2 separate regions of the Homo sapiens genome follow, and region 2 is linked to region 1. Evidence: promoter capture Hi-C in 16 types of primary human blood cells and fetal thymus (Javierre and others, 2016). All regions are on one chromosome and are shown on one strand. Each heading gives the region's core, a stretch centred on a gene start or on the middle of the fragment in contact. The rest is flanking DNA. Distances are from core to core; before and after follow the strand shown. Region 1 holds the start of BATF3 (basic leucine zipper ATF-like transcription factor 3). Region 2 overlaps DTL (denticleless E3 ubiquitin protein ligase adapter).

Region 1 (3,357 bases), core at 465-2,964:
ATAACATACATAGCAAATAGAAGCTTAAGGGAACAAAGTATGATAATACAGTCTTCTAGAGAGGCAAAGAAGTCTTGATAAACAAAACCAGAACATTACAGGGGAACATGTGGTTAGAAGACAGCTCTTTAGCTTTAGAATCACACAGATCCTAGTTTTGTCTCTTAGTGTCAACATGGTCTTGTGTAAATGGTTTAAATTCTCTAAATTTTCAGTTTTCTCATTTATTGTAAGCATAATTCATTCATTCTTTCAATATGTATTAACTGAGCACCTACCATGTGCCAGACACTGTTCTAGACACTGGGGATACAAGCCCTAAACAAAGGGTCAGTGAACTCTGCAGACTTGGTGCTAACAGCCTAATGCTTAGGATTGGGATGCGATGAAATGAGATTTTGTCCTAAAGCTCCCAGCATACAGTATGCCCTCAAGAAGTTACCTGCCTTTGTTGAAGTTGCTACTTTAAAAAAAAATGTATTCTGCATAGTGCTTCTCATGCCTCTTTGCTCTCTGTAATCAAAAAGTCACTAGCACAAGAAAGCAGCCTGCATACTGCCCTCGGGGAGCTGACTCTAAACTGGACTCATCACCATGATCACACCTGCCAACCCAGCAGAAACATTTAATCAAGACAGAAAGAGGTGAGCGAAAGTTAGAGATAGTATTATGTTATTAACCATATCTGATTCAGTCTCAAAAATCCTGAGAGGTTGATGTTACTATATTCATTTTACAGATGGGGAAATGGACGGTCCGAGAGGTTAAACAAATTGCTCAAGGCTGCTCAGCCTGTGTGTGGCAAAGCCCAGGCCCAAACTCAGATCTCTGTGACACTCCAGCGACACCTGATGACATGGGCCGGGCGCTGAATTGGGAAGGTGGGGAGTAAGGATGAAAAGACCCAGTCTTCGTCGTAAGGCAGGTGGCCAAGACCCAGGCAAAGTTTCCAGACGGCCGTCCCTGTGGCCAACCTGGTCTCCTTCCTGACTGCGCCGCTGTAAACGTTGCTAGGGGACAGCGAACTGGGAAGGGGCAAAGGGTTTCCACCAGCTGGGGGCGGAGTCGGCCCTTTGTGGGTTCCCTCCGCCCAGGCTGACTAGTCCGGCGTTCTCCATTCCCGCGGCAGCACCCCCCCCACCCGGGGGAATCCTGGAGGGGCTACAGGCGCGGGTGGTGGGGTGGCAGTCGCTGGCTGCGCCAGGATGGGGCGGCCCTCAGGGCAGTGCGGAGCCCACGTGCCGGGGAGCACCGGCCATGCCCGGCCCAGCCAGGCGTCGGCGCCCTCGGGCTTCTTCCCCCAGAGGGCGCAGGAGCTGGCTCAGGAGCCATTCCAGGAGCCGCGGACACTGTGCGCACGACAGGGTCCCTGGATCGCCCCCATTCCCCAACATCCCTACGCCCCTACCTCTGCTTGTCTCCGGCCGCACCCGCCACCTCTGCACCTCCGCAGTCACCACCACGGAACTCCAGCACCCACCTCCTCGCCCCCCGCGGCGCGCCGGTCCCCGCACCCCACGGCCCTCCCTGAGCCTCTCGCCCTCTACCTGCTGCTGCGGCTGCGGCTGCGGCTGGTTCCCGGGCGCCGCGACGCTCCTCTGCAGGACGCTGCCGGCGGCCGGGAGCCCTTGCGACATGCCGGGCGCTCCTCTGGCCCGGCCCGCCCCGCCCCGCCCGCGCGCCCTGCCCGTGGGGCTGCCTACGGGCGCTGTCCCGCCGCCGGCATCCTCGTGCCGCACCCACGGCCTCGCGCCGGCCCCGCCCCCTCAGGCTTCCCGCTCTCCCCGCTACTCCACGCGTCGGCCCAGTGTCCCCGCGCGCCAGTCCCGGCAGCCGTCCTTCCCGTCCCACGTCTGCCCCGCCCTCCTTCTCCCACCCCCGCCTCGTTTCCTCCTCTGCCCGCCCTCTCTCCGCACCTCGGGGTCCCAAATCCCACCCCTGCCGCGGCTTTCCGCCGGCGCCCCGCGCTTCGTGGAAGTCACGTGGTGGCTCTGAAACCCCGGAGGGAACGCGAAGCCCACCCACGCGAGGCGACGCCCGGGGGGGTGGGGACCAGGGGGGCGCCATGCAGCCTTTGGGGTCCTTCGGCGGCTGCCGGGGAACTCAGGTTGAGAAACACAGTGGGTGTTTTGGGGTCGGTGTTTTTTCCCGGTCCCATCGCGGCATCTTCCTGCGCCTCAGCCACGCCCTGCGTCCGCCCCCCGGCGCGGGGGTCACAGTCCCGGGGGACTTTCTCCGCGGCGATCAGTCATCCGGGCGCCACTCTCGCTCCTCCAGCGGCCCCGAAGCCGCGGCTCTGGGGTGAAGACGCCGGCTTCACCGAGTCCCACCGCGCACCCCGAGCCACGGGCGCCCCAGGGACTCTGCAGGGAGTGCCTGCCCTTCCCGTCTCGGGTCCGCCGGGCTGTGGGAGGGAACGAGGCGGGGCGGCCCCGAGGGTGAATTCCCGGAGCGGAGGGTGGGCATGGGGAGGATGTCCCGGACAAAAACGGTGACGGGCTTCCCTGAGAGCGAATCTGCCACGTGGGACGTCACTAGTGACAGGTTTGGGGATCTGGACCCGCCATGCCACGGTTAAACGGCCCAGATCATTTTTCTTTTTCAAGATTTATCTGCTCGTGCCAAGCTGGGGACCGGGTTGAGGTAGGGCAAGTCCCTGTCCACCTGCCTGCCAGTCAAAAGATGCGAAGCCAAGACAATTACCCGTGGTCCTAGCGAAGGAAACACTAGCGGCCACAGGCTGTGGTCTGCATGCTGTGAGCACCGGGAAAGATAACCGCGATTCGGGATGGGCGGGTGGGAACCAGACCAGAAGGGCAGAAGTGCCTACCAAGTGTGGTCGCTTGGGTCTTCAGGTTTGTGGGCAGCAGTGGGCATGGGGACAGTCATTTCCGATTCCTTTTTAAGTCTTAAATGAGTGCACGTGCCCCCCGCCAGGATTTAAGACCCACTCTTGCAAAAGCTTTGAGAGAGCTTGAGTGAACTTGGCTGCCTGGAGGCCAGCGGGAAAGCGAGCGGAGATTCTTGTCTGTGTGATCAGAAGCTTCGGCCAACTGAGAGGCGGGGAGGAAGACGGAGGGTGGACGCAGCCCTTTAGAGTTGCAGCGCCACACTCCACAGCAGCAAGGCTGCGCAGCAGAGCCAGCGCTACGCTGGGTTATCTGCCCGGATTAATCTTTTCCTCTCCGTTATTTCATCACTCAGCTTAACTGGTGGTTGCCCCAGGACTATTTTGCATCCCACAAGGTACCCACACAAGGTGCCTAGCATAGCACGCTACATACACTCAACAGGTGCTCAGTATATGTATTGCACTAGGTCAGCTGAAAGCTCTCATTCCTGAAGCACTAAAAGGGC
Region 2 (3,357 bases), core at 567-3,066, 640 kb before region 1:
TCCTCTCTGTGCCTCTCTTGGTACTTACCTAATAAGGTTGATAGCAAGGATTGAGATAATTTTTATAAAACACGCGGGATAGTAGCTAACATTTAGAATAAGAAGCACTCTGTATTTTGACTCTTGATTGTTATTCTTATTACAACTGTACTATATATTTTATATGGGTTTTAAAAAATTTACAGAGGGGTGATTCTATGAAGTTTTGGTTCAACATTAGCATCTCAAGCTCTTCATAATCCTTTTTCCTATTTGTTATTGAGCCATATATTTTTAAATGTTTGATCTCCAGTGACAGATACAGTACCTAGCACATAATAGATAGTCTACAAAATGTAAACTGAAATATATGTGTCATTGACTGGTTTTGTTAACCTCTTAATAATCTGTTTATTTCCCCACAGCTGTATTCTGTACGGGTGGAAGAGATGGCAACATTATGGTCTGGGATACCAGGTGCAACAAAAAAGGTTATCTAGATCTATTTTAATTTTGAGAGATTTGGGATTACCCTGTACTTAATTTTGAGTGAAAGAGTTAGTGATTTCATCTGATTACCACCAGGGGGCATGTACTCATAATTTCCCATTTCTGCTCACTGTTCCAGATCTCAGGATCTTCACTGAGTGTCCTGAGTGATAAATACATGAGTGTCACTGTTACAAGTATTACACTCATGTATTTATCTCATATTGTCTTCTGAATTATAATGCCATTTACCCACATTATTGATGGACTTAAAAATATTAATACGCAGCCTCACTGGTAAATGTCTTTATTTTGGTTTTTAAGAATTTTTTTTATTTTATTATTATTATTTTTTTTTTTTTTGAGATGGAGTCTCTGTCACCCAGGCTGGAGTGCAGTGGCGTGAACTTGGCTCACTGCACTCCCCACCCGCTGGGTTCCAGCAATTCCTCTAGCTCAGCCTCCTGAGTAGCTGGGATTACAGCCACCCGCCACCATGCCTGGCTAATTTTTGTATTTTTTTAATAGAAATGGGGTTTCACTATGTTGGCCAGGCTGGTCTCAAACTCCTGACCTCAAGTGATCTGCCCACCCTGGCCTCCCAAAGTGCTGAAATTACAGGCGTGAGTCACCAGGCCCAGCCTGATTTTAAAGAATTAGATTGAATTAAACATAAGCTCATGGTTGTCTCATGATGCTATTAAGCAGACGATGATTATCTCACTGTTCACTTTTAGTTAATTTATTAAAATTTTTTTTTGTGTCTGCATTTTAAAAAATTGGTAACATAGTTCTACATATTTTCAGGGGTATATGTGATATCTTGATACATATATAGAACATGAAATGATCAAATCAGGATAATTGGGATATCCATCACCTCAAACATTTATCTTTTCTTTGTGTTGGGAACATTACAATTCTTCTCTTCTGGTTTTTTGTTTCTTGTTTTTTTTTTTTTTGGAGACGGAGTCTCACTCTGTCACCCAGGCTGGAGTGCAGTGGCGTGATCTCATCTCGCTGCAACCTCCGCCTCCTGGGTTCAAGTAATTCTCCTACCTCAGCCTCTCAAGTAGCTGGGATTACAGGTGCATGCCACCACTCCCAGCTAGTTATGTATTTTTAGTACAGACAGGATTTCACCATGTTGGCCAGGCTGATCTGGAACTCCTGACCTCAGGCAATCTGCCTGCCTCAGCCTCCCATTCTTCTAGCTATTTTGAAATAAATAATAAAATTATTTAGAAAAATTTTAATAAACCTTATTTTGTAGAGCAGTTTTAGGTTCACAGCAAAACTGAGCAGAAAGTACAGAGAGTTCCCATATAGCCCCTGCCCTGCCCACACACAGACTTCCCCACTGACAACATCCTGTGCCTGAGTGGTACATTTGTTATAATCAGTTAACCTATGTCAACACATGCTGTCACTCAGAGTTTATAATTTACATCAGTGTTATATATTCTTAGTATTACACATTCTGTGGATATTGACAAATGTGTAATGACGTGCGTCCACCATTGTAGCATCATACACAATAGTTTCACTACTCTAGAAATCCTCTGTGCTCCAGTTATTCATCCCTACCTCCCTCTAAGCCCTGGCAACCACTGATCTTATTACTTCCCCCAGTCACATTTCCTCCATGTCATTTTATGGCTTTATCAAGCTCATTTCTTTCCAGTGCTGAATAATATTCCATTGTCTGGATGAACCAAAGTTTATCCATTCACCTACTGAAGGACATCTTGGTTGTTTCCAAGTTTTGGCAATTATTAAAGCTGTTATAAACATCTCTCCCTTTTTATACATTATAGTCTCACCACAGGAGATGTAGTGCAGCTGGCTCTGCTGGCTTCTAATTTCACCAACTTGGTCAAAAATTACTTAATATTGAAGTTTTATTTACACATGTTATATTCAGCATGTAAGAATCCTGAAACCTAAATTTCCTTGGAATATCTTTCAGATGGGTTTTATAGGCAAGTGAATCAAATCAGTGGAGCTCACAATACCTCAGACAAGCAAACCCCTTCAAAACCCAAGAAGAAACAGAATTCAAAAGGACTTGCTCCTTCTGTGGTAAGGTTTTACAGATGTATACATGTGTGCAGATCTTATCTGTAGGATAGAATAAATGGGAGGCTATTGATTAAGTGAATGAGAATCTTCATGATTCTCATTTGATATCAGTGGTTTATTGCTTATTCAGTACCTACATTTGTGGTTCTCAAATTTTAATTTTTGGTTCTTCTGAATTATAATGCCATTTACCTATATTATTGATGGAATTAAAATATATGTAGCCTCGTTGATAAATATCTTTAAATTTATTTTGGTTTTAAAGAATTAGATTGAATTAAACATAAGATGTTGTCTCATGCCATTAAGCAGAAAGTGGTTTTTTTTTTTACAATTTCAATATCTACATTTTAAAAAATTGATAACATAATTTTACATATTTTGGGGGGTACACTATGTATAATGATCAAATCAGGGTAATTGAGATAGCCATCACTTCAAATACTGTGTGCATCAGAGTTGCCTGAGGCACATGTTGAAAATTCACCTTACTCATCCCTAAAAATCTCTCTACACACACAGACACAAACACACACACACAAACACACCCCTATAGTATAGTGGAATTCATTAGGAAAAGTGGGGGAGGAGTAGTTTGAAGAAGCATATTAAGTACTGTGATGCAGTTTTCTAAGGGGAAAGAATACCTGTTGTTTTCGTAATACAAACTACAGAAAAATATGTTTTTTGTTTTGAGACAGAGTCTCGCTCTGTCACCCAGGCTGGAGTGCAGTGGCGCAATCTTGGCTCACTGCAAGCACCGCCTCCCAGGTTCACACCATTCTCCTGCCTCAGCCTCCCAAGTAG

The links. Contacts are between HindIII fragments. The CHiCAGO score rates a contact against its expected background, and 5 or more counts as called.
Region 2: a contact is called between a fragment that was not itself captured here and the fragment with the promoter of BATF3 in region 1, in 1 of 17 cell types (M2 macrophages). The highest score is 6.7, in M2 macrophages.

The regions. Positions count from the first base shown.
Region 1 is chr1:212,698,126-212,701,482 of GRCh38, forward strand. It overlaps BATF3 (basic leucine zipper ATF-like transcription factor 3), which reads right to left and starts at 1,715. Exons shown (of 3, transcript NM_018664.3): 1 at 1,548-1,715. The coding sequence starts at 1,637. RefSeq lists silencers at 1,013-1,462, 1,653-1,732. The HindIII fragment of the contact is 2,939 bases long and covers 22-2,960 here.
Region 2 is chr1:212,062,480-212,065,836 of GRCh38, forward strand. It overlaps DTL (denticleless E3 ubiquitin protein ligase adapter), which reads left to right. Exons shown (of 15, transcript NM_016448.4): 6 at 405-470; 7 at 2,438-2,550. Among named protein-coding and RNA genes, the nearest start is that of MIR3122, 13 kb to the right of the region's middle. The HindIII fragment of the contact is 6,737 bases long and covers 1-3,357 here.